Regions from separate parts of the Homo sapiens genome. Here region 1 is linked to region 2. Evidence: promoter capture Hi-C in human tissues and cell types (Jung and others, 2019). All regions are on one chromosome and are shown on one strand. The core of a region is centred on a gene start or on the middle of the fragment in contact, and the rest is flanking DNA. Distances in the headings are between cores, read along the strand shown. Region 1 has its middle 240 kb from the start of GALR1. Region 2 holds the start of MBP (myelin basic protein).

Region 1 (5,253 bases), core at 1,486-3,985, 360 kb before region 2:
AATCCGCTCACTCACACTTTCCACTCCTAACACAATCACTCACACTTTCCACTCCTAACACACTCACACTTTCCACTCCTAACACAATCACTCACACTTTCCACTCCTAACACACTCACACTTTCCACTCCTAACACAATCACTCACACTTTCCACTCCTAACACAATCACTCACACTTTCCACCCCTAACGCAGTAGGTAAATGTGCGTACCATAGGCACTAGTCACATAACCTTCCCTCTCTGCCCTGATCCCCCAGGACCACAGGCATAAGGAAACACACCCCGTCACTCCCTTAATGACATCACGGCATGGCTACCCACAGGCCAAGCTCCAGTACTGTGCTGGTGACATGACACAAAGACAAATGAGACCACAAGGACCTCCACATCAACTCAGGGAGACTGGCTCTGAGCTTGGTTGAGACATTGATCTTTGTGATCAGCTTGTGACAACAGTGATAAGCATTTCTGAGATGTGAGGGCACTGAAGATTTCATACAGCACTAGAGATTTGTTTTTTGATGTTAAAAGAACCATCCTAGCAAATATGTTGACACCACGAAGAGCGGGAGAGGGCCCTGGATGCCAGGCAGGGGGGTCCGTGGCTGAGGATTCATGGGAAGGAGGTAAGGGGAGGAGAAAAGCAAAGGAACATCAGAATCCTTGTGGTAATTTCACCAAGGAGCAATTGCTTTTTAACTTTTATTTCAGGTCCGGGGAACATGTGCAGGCTTGTTATACAGGTAAATCGTGTGTCACAGGGATTTGGTGTACAGATTGTGTCGTCACCCAGGTGATAAGCATAGTCCCTGATAGGTAGCTTTCTGATCCTCTCCCTCCTCCCACCCTCCACCCTCCAGTAGGCCCTGGTGTCTGTTATTCCCTTTTTGTGTCCATATGTTCTCAATGTCTAGCTCCCACTTATAAGGGAGAACATGCAGTAATAGGTTTCTGTTTCCTTCATTAGTTCACTTAAAATAAGGTCCTCCAGCTCCACCCATGTCGCTGCAAAGGACATGATCTCATTCCTTTTTATGGCTGCATAGTATTCCACGGTGCATATGTACCACATTTTTTAATCTAATCTACCATTGATGAGCATCTAGGTTTATTCCTTGTCTTTGCTATTGTGAATAGTGCTGCAGTGAATATTTGCAAGTGTGTCTTTATGATAGAATAATTTATATTCCTTTAGGTATAATAATGGGATTTCTGGGTCGAATGTTTTAAGTTCTTTGAGAAATTACCAAACTGCTTTTCACAATGGCTGAACTAATCTACATTCCCACCAGCAGTGTATAAGGGCTCCCTTTTCTCCACAACCTCACCAGCATGTGATATTATTTGACTTTTTAATAATAGCTATTCTGACTGGTGTGAGATGGTATTTCACCATGGTTTTGATTTGCATTTCTCTAATGATTAGTGATGTGGAGCATTTTTGCATATGCTTGTTGGCCATCTGTATGTCTTCTTTTGAGAAGTGTCTGTTCATGACCTTTGCCCACTTTGTAATGGGGTTAGTTTTTGCTTGTAAATTTGTTTAAGTTCCTTATAGATTCTGGATATTAGACCTTTGTCATGTGCATAGTTTGCAAATATTTTCTACCATCCTCTAAGTCGTCTGTTTACTCTGTTGATAGTTTCTTTTGCTGTGCAGAAGCTCCTTAATTAGATCCCAGGTGTCAATTTTTTGTTGTTGCAATTGCTTTTTGCATCTTTGTCATAAAGTCTTTGCCAGGTCCTGTGATCAAGGAGTAATTCTGTTCAGGCTTTGCAATAACCTTCTCAAGAAATATGAAAGTCTTTCAAAGTCCCATGTGCAAATTTAAGAAATCCCATACAATTTTTATGCATTCAAATGGTTTATGTATTTATACCTACATATACTTTTCTAGGCAGTATTTGAGTTTTGAAGAGCGCTGTAAGAAAGGAAGGAAGGACTAATAGCCTAACATTGGTCAGGTTGTTTATCAGAATATAAATTTGCCTTCATGCAATACCCTGTTCTGTAGTTTAAATTTCATTTCCCATGTGTATGGTCACTTCCATCTGGCAACCAGCGGCTGAATGAAAGGAACTGAAAGTTACTGTCAAGTCTGTAAGCGCATATCACACAAAGACTGAGAAACCAGAAACCTACAAACGGCTGTGTGACCTTGTGAAGATCATCCAGTCTTTCTGAATATCAGGTTCTTCACCTGTAAAATGAAGTCAAGCTTCATTTGCTTCATGATGATGAGGTAAAAACCTATATAGTCTTTTATTTCACCCCCAAATAAAAGAGAATTATGAACAAAACATATAAACACCATCTTCAATGACACAAGGAGACGTTTGTAGCCCAGTACCAAATTTATGAAGCAAAAAAAGTTGAAACAGTAAATGAGTTAGCAGAACAAAGGAAGATGAAGCTTGAATGTCTCCGAAACCATTAGGAGGAAGCCAGCTCACCTGGAGAACAGGAAAATAGCCAAGTAACTAGAGCAGCCAGTTTCTGCTGAAGGGGTGGTTAGAACCACCCCTCCCCAACCCTCAGGAGACGAAAAGTATAGTTTCTAAAGGCACTCAATCAGAAATCCTCCATATCTAGACACTGAGGAAGGCAAAAGAACATTACAAACACACACCAAGAGGACATTACAAACACACACACAATCAGCAAGTGAAAAACCAAGCAGCTGGAGATGAAAGATTGGAACAGGGACCTCCCTGTCTCCCCAACCAAAGCTGCCAGGCTCTCCCCAAAGCAAGAAACTGGAAGCTCTTTCTCAGAGATACCCAACCACCACCAAAAGGCAAACATACCCAAGCATTTGGGTGACTCAAGTAAAAAGAGACACATGACATTGAAGGTTGCAGGCCACGTGCTCACCCCTGCAGACGGCGTTCCTAATGGCTTTGCATTGCTTCCTAAGGAAGAACACTCAGATGCCAGGGTCCAATAGCAGAGACAGAAGCCACACCAAATAGCCAGAAAAACGAAGGAACTACTAAGAAACAGAGAAAATAAAACATTTTCTCTAAAAGTTAAAGGCATTGTGAAGACAACAGCCATCAACAAAACAAGGGCTTCAGTTCTACAACCGCGTGGAACTGAATTCTGCCAGCATCCTGAGTGGATTCTTTCTCAGAACCTTTGGAGAGGAGCATCGCCCAGCATTCTGACCTGCAGAACTCTCAGGTGAACATAACCCTGTGTTTTTTAAGCTGTTCAGTTTGTGGTAATTTGTTCCTGTAGCAGTAGAAAACTAACATGATGCCCATTTAATAAGCAAAATTTGTTGTTCTTCACAATTCAAAATTTAGAGATTGAAAATTCTCTAAAATTGCTGCCTACTTGGCTGCGTTTTCTATCAAGAACACTTATTAGAATGAATGACTCAGGCTCATAGTCATTGGCAACGTTTATTTCCTAGCAGTGACACCAGGACATGTTTAGTGTATGCCCAGCATGATTGACTCATTACCCACATACTGCTGGTCTTCTCTTTTCAGCTGTTCATTGTTTTCCTGTTTTCACAGTTCTTAGCATCATGTCTCACTCTCAGCAAAGTGACTGGCACTGAGCCTGTTTTGCTATTAGGATAAATTGAAGGATGCAGGTTTCTAAAATTCATAACTTTGCGTTACACAAACTCAGTATTTTGCATAGCTCCTCCTTGACTTACATATCTCTCACTGCAGTGATTGAAGGCCGGTGTTGTCCTGAGGTTAAAATGATACCTGCCTTCATGGGCCTTCCCTCCAGCCAGTCAATATGAGCAATCTGTTCATTATTTATTTCAAAGCAATGTAACTGATGACATGGAACTGTCCCATCTTCATGTGCGGAATACTCTACAGCTGGTATTCATCACCAGAAATTCTTATCTTCCTTATGCAGGTCTTAGTTAAATCACACTTTAAAAGAAGCGTGGCTGATCTGAATTACTCTGAGATAAATCTTGAGCTGCTTTTTTCATGTGAATGTACAAATGAGTGAATGATGGAATGCACATGAAAAATCGCACCTGGAATTTAAGGATGTAGAGCTGCTAAATAAATTACTCTGAACTCAGTACTCTGAACTAAGCCACCGTTTTTCATGCTTTTTTCATGAATGTAAATTTTCCAACTTTCATTCATGTGTTTATCTGGATCTTCTGCTGTGGATCTTACAAGGCTGAAAGCATGGCATTGGCTGGGCTACATTATCATCTGAAGGCTCAGCTGGGGAAGAATCCATTTCTGAGCTCATTTAGGTTGCTGGCAGAATACCTTTCCTTATGGTTGTACAACCAAGGGCTATTAGGAGGGTGCCACCCTTGGGCCCTAGAGACTCCCCAGAGCTCACAGCCACCAGCCACGTGCACTTTTCCAGCATGACTTTCAGCTCCATGCAGCCCACAGATGGCTCCAGCTCATCTGCCCTCACAGAGTCTTATTTAATGTGATATACGCACAGGAGGGACAGCCTATCACCCCTGTCAGGTTACAGAACCTAAGCATGTGGGCAAACCATCACCTTTGTTGTCATCGATTTGTAAGTAGCAAGTCACCAACCTGGCTCACACTCCAGGGCAGGGAGTAGGACAGAGGTGTAGATGGTAGTAGGTAGGATGACCAGGAGACACCTTAGGGTGTGTCCACATCCGTGACTTCTCTCTTGGCTTGCTCAGGCTCAGTGGGGAATTAGCAGCATTCAAACTTGTTAAGCAGTGAGGAAATGGACTGCTGCAAAGGGGAGGAGCCAAACAGGACAGGCCCTGGAGAGGTATGCGGATTTCCTTGGAGGATCACTGGGTATTGTTCATGAGATGTACAAAACCTGTAAGTTTCAAGATGCTAATAGGAAAAGGATCTGAGGGAGGGCAACATTGAAGATAAAACAGAGGGGCATGGTTTCCTCAAAGCCGTGAGGGTCTGGCCCCCAGCAGAAGTGAATGCGCTGTCTTCCCACAGGTGTGTGGGGTGGGGAGGGGCCAGGTGTCCCATTTTCCCATTTAACCAGGGAGCAGGAAGGCGGTGTGGGCACAGATGCCAGGGAAGGATGGATTTGGAGCCAGCAAGTTGAGGGTTTCTTTGCCTGACAGCTTCTATTTTCTCTGTAAAGCAAGGCCCAAGGCCATCTGGGGAGAAGGAAGGGTGTGTGTGCTGAGGAACTGGAGGTTTAACAAGGTCCAGAAGGTTTAAAACAGTCCTTATAGACAACCCTTCAGTGAGTGAGCATTAGAATTATAGTATGATTATTAGGTAGCGTTGAGCACAC
Region 2 (4,176 bases), core at 1,457-3,956:
GAGACTGAGGCTCAGAGAGGTTTAGACCAGGTCTGAAAATCATATTCAGTCCTGGCCGGGCGTGGTGGCTCAGGCCTGTAATCCCAGGACTTTGGGAGACCCAGGCAGGTGGATCACCTGAGGTCAGCGGTTCGAGAACAGCCTGGCCAACGTGGTGAAACCCCATCTCTACTAAAAATACAAAAATTAGCTGGGCATGGTAGCGGTTGCCTATAATCCCAGCTACTCGGGAGGCTGAGGCAGGAGAATTGCCTGAACCTGGGAGGCGGAGGTTGCAGTGAGCTGAGATTGCACCATTGCACTCCAGCCTGGGCCACAGAGCAAGACTCCATCTAAAAAAAAAAAAGAAAGAAAAAAAAAAGTTCAGTCCTTTCCTAAGCAAAACATCATAACAAAGACAAATCTGTTGATGAGGAAACTAAAGAAAACTCAAAGTTCGTGCAGTCTGAGGTCTGTTGGAAACTATTTAGATTCATTTACTTCCTTTAGCTTGGGTAATTTGGAGTTTAATTCAGCTTAACAAAAATTTATTGAGTGTATTTCATGCACAAAACATTTTGCTATTTGCTGCCATATGAGATGATGGATAGGTCAAACTTTCTGCTCTCCGGTACCTTGTGAAAGATGGGGGTAACTGCAATGTGATTTTCTTAGAAATGTCAAAGACACAATGAGGCTTTGATGGGTTACTTGTCAAAAGATGCCTTTCAATTTTATTCAGCACAACGAATCTCTGTCACTTTGCTGAGGGCTACATGGACATCTTCATGTGAAAGTTTGTCTCTCGACAGTGAAATGCCAGCCTCTGTTTCTTCCATCCACTGTCCTCAACCTGGGGTCCTTTTTCTAACCGGGAGGGCATGAAAGCCCCCAAGATAAGACCAGTTGATCCAAATGTGAATCCACTGTTTTATTAAATAGTATTATCTACATGTTTTCTTTGAAGAATCCATGACTTTTCTAAACTGCCTGGCTGCCCATCTGTGTGGACACTCTATCCCAACAAAATATGCACGGTGAAATTTCATAAATACTTTAAAAAGACTTTTAACTGGAACTTGTGGAGCCTGACATTTGTAGGGCTGACTGTTGGCATATGTAGTGTTTCAGGAAACCACTGTAACACCAGCAGAAGGAGCACCAAACAGAAGGCCGCGTGTGCAGCTGTCACTGTGGCCTGAGGGACGCTCCAGAGCCCAGCACACAGGGACATCTGCAGGCAGGAAGGTGGCCCCGCCCTGTGGAGTCACTGAGATAAAGCCAAGAGATATTTTGGGGAGGAAAAGCTGTTTCTGATGCTAAAGCAGGTATCTAAAATGGGACCCATTTTAGTGTTCCAGCTTCCCCAGCCTGAGCTTTGAGTGACTTGAGCTGGGACCTGGGTGCACCCGGGTTCATTGTCACCACCCGTGCTCCTAGGGCAGCTGTCCAGCCTCCCACGCCCACTCCGCTCATCCTTGACTTAAAGTGAGGTTGTGGGGCAGAAAAATTGGAGAAACACACTATCTTTGGCACCCTTTTCCCTCCTCACCTTCAGCCTCAAAGTCTCAGAACCCTCCTGCCCCCTCCACTTGAAAATCTCTCCTGAGGAAACGACCAGACTGAATGCTTTTGCGTCGTTGTGGAAGTATTTCTCTTCCAGTTGCCAGCATTTGAAGACAGTTGCTAAATCCTCCGGGGCTTTGGGGGAGGCTGGTTTTAGGCCGAAACCCCGACCCCGTGCTGAAGTCTGAGTCCCGCCTCCCAGCGCGGGCCGGGACAGCGCTCACCCCTCTCCCTCACTTCCTAACAAACTGTGTGGGTCCCAGGCTGCTCCAGGTCCCCTGGAAGCTCCAGATCCAGATCCCTGACTGGGGGTGTAGGTCAGGAGGAACGCGGGGCCTCATTCTGGGACTCCCCCAACCTCCTCCTCTTCCACCATCAGGAGGCTGAGAATCCAGAGAAAGATCTCTGACCACTAAATCTGTGTGCAGGTGAGTCACGGCTAAACAGCAGGCTTTTTCTTTTTAACAAGACAGCGACGAAGACCACGATGTCTCTGGGCTGCAGGACCAGGCTGCTTCCTCGCACCTGCGCGTGTTTTGCTGTCTTTTCCGCGCACGCTTCCTGCGCCGGTCCTGCAGGAGAAGGTGCGCCCCTAGCTCCCAGCTCCCAGCTCCCAGCTCCCAGAGGAGCACCTGCCAGCCGGACATGGGCCTGGCCTGGGCTCCAGGGGAGGGAGGGAGTGCCTTGGGAGGACCTGCCGGCTCCTTTCGCCTCCAGGCCGGGCTGACTCTCCTCCTGCAGGGCCGGGGCTGCGCCAAGTCTATCGGCAGTTTCTGGGGTTTCCAGCCCCTGAGGACGCGGGGAGATGCGGCCTGGCACCCCTCCCGCGAGGTCGAGGTCGGGGTCGGGGTGGGTTCGGAGGCCAAGCCTCCGAACGGGAAGGGTCGACGGGCCGCAGTTCGGAGCCCAGTTCGGCAGCGGGCGAGGCTCCAGGCCGCCCCTCCGAGGTCTGACCCTGCGCGTGGGCCCCGTGCGCCCCCCAAGTTCCGCGTGGGCAGAGCGGGCCCGGGGTCCTCCGAGCTCCCGGGGCGGCGCCGGCGGCCGCGTCCAGGTGGGGCGGGCCCGGCGGGATCGGCCTGTGTTTACCTGGCTCGCAGGAAGCCCGGGGAGGCGGGGCCGGGGAGCTGGGTGCGCGCCCGTCCCTCGGAGCCGCCGCCGTCAGTCACCGCCGCCGCGCGCCAGAGAGAAGCAGCCTCCGGCCCCGGCGGCCCCTGTCTCCCGACCCCGGAAGGCGAAGCAGGCTGCCCGGGGACCCCGCGCGTGGGCGCTTGAAGCCGAGACCAGCCTGCCCGGGCCTGGGCAGGCGGAGCAGGGCCTTGGACCCCGCGGCGCCCCTCGGCCTCGGAGCAACGAGCGCAGCGCCGGTGGGTGACCCTCGGGGACGGGCGGGCTGCTCTGCCGCCTTTGTCTCTGTGCCCCTCCGAGTGGGGACCGCGGAGACCTGGGCGGGACCCCGGACCGGAGCCCCGCGGGAGCCGGGGGCGCAAGATCGGGGACAGGAGCTATCCCGACGCCCGGACTCCGGGTCCCTTTCTTGGCTGGGGACGCGCAGGGAGAACCTAGGCAGCGGAGCAGGTGGCCGAGCAGGTAGCAGCCGGCGGCCTCCCTGACCCGAACCCAAGTCGCCGCCCCCGATCCCCATTGCGCGGGGGCTGGGCGCGGGTGTAGACGCGGGTTTACAGCGCCGGGGCCCGACCCTGACAGGTGTCCAGGGGTGGACTCCAGCCAGGCCCGGCGGTCCCAGGGTCGCTGAAACCGCTCGGCCTCGGGCCGTGGGGCTGAGGGGAGGAGTCTAGGGTGGGAGGGGACGGCGGTCAAAAGCGGCCACTCTGGGCGGGTGTGGAGAGGGTGCTGGCTGCCAGGGCGGGCTGGGGGGTCCTCCCGGCTCGCGGCGCCTGCTAATCACACCCCGGGGGCCCCGCGCGCGATCGCGCTCCTGCCCCTGCCCCCGGGGCGAAGCGCAGTCTCCCTCTGAGCTCCAGGGGCGGCCAGGAGAGCCCGGGTCCGGGCTTCCGCCTTCGCAGGGCCTGTCTCGGGCTCTTCGGCCGGGCCCGTCGCTGCGCCCACCTGGGCCCACGTGCGCCGCCCGCAGCCGCCCGCCGGCCCGCCCGGGTCTTCCCGGCAGTCCCCTCCTGGGCCCCACTGCCTGTCCTGGGCCGGGTGCGTCCGTTTTCCGTGGCCCCCGAGGCCGGGGTGTGTGACCTGCGGTCATTTGCCGCCACACTAGATTTTCCGGGGTGCTGGGGGCAGCGCCTTGTGTCCTTTCGCGTCCACCTGAGCCCCCCCGTTTTGGAAGGTGGAGTGGGGCTTGGGAAAAGGTTCAAGCGTCTTTGGGGACCCCCGTGCGACTCTGGCTGGAAACAGGCGAGCTCTGGTTCCTTGTTCCGTTTTCCAATTGCAACAACGTGAGAATCAACAAGTGCTCGGTTTCTCTGCGCGTGGGTGAGGGGCGCGTGGGCTCGCTGGGTGCTGGGGTGGGGAGGGGGCGTGGACTTCGTTCCGGGGAGGCCTCTGCCTCGTCTGACCACAGAACGCCCCGCCTGGAAAGAGAGTTTTTCAGAGGAAGGAAACGTCAGGGAACTCCAGTGTGTGTTTTGGACATTTTATCTGGCGAAGCTCCGGGGGACAGTT

The links. Contacts are between HindIII fragments. The study calls those that stand out against the background at their distance.
Region 1: a contact is called between a fragment that was not itself captured here and the fragment with the promoter of MBP in region 2, in 2 of the 25 tissues and cell types used here (heart left ventricle and lymphoblastoid cells).

Annotation. Positions count from the first base shown.
Region 1 is chr18:77,485,382-77,490,634 of GRCh38, reverse strand. No RefSeq gene overlaps it. Among named protein-coding and RNA genes, the nearest start is that of GALR1, 240 kb to the right of the region's middle. The HindIII fragment of the contact is 3,373 bases long and covers 1,049-4,421 here.
Region 2 is chr18:77,131,313-77,135,488 of GRCh38, reverse strand. It overlaps MBP (myelin basic protein), which reads left to right and starts at 2,706. Exons shown (of 9, transcript NM_001025101.2): 1 at 2,706-2,909. RefSeq lists a silencer at 2,442-3,741. The HindIII fragment of the contact is 18,599 bases long and covers 1-4,176 here.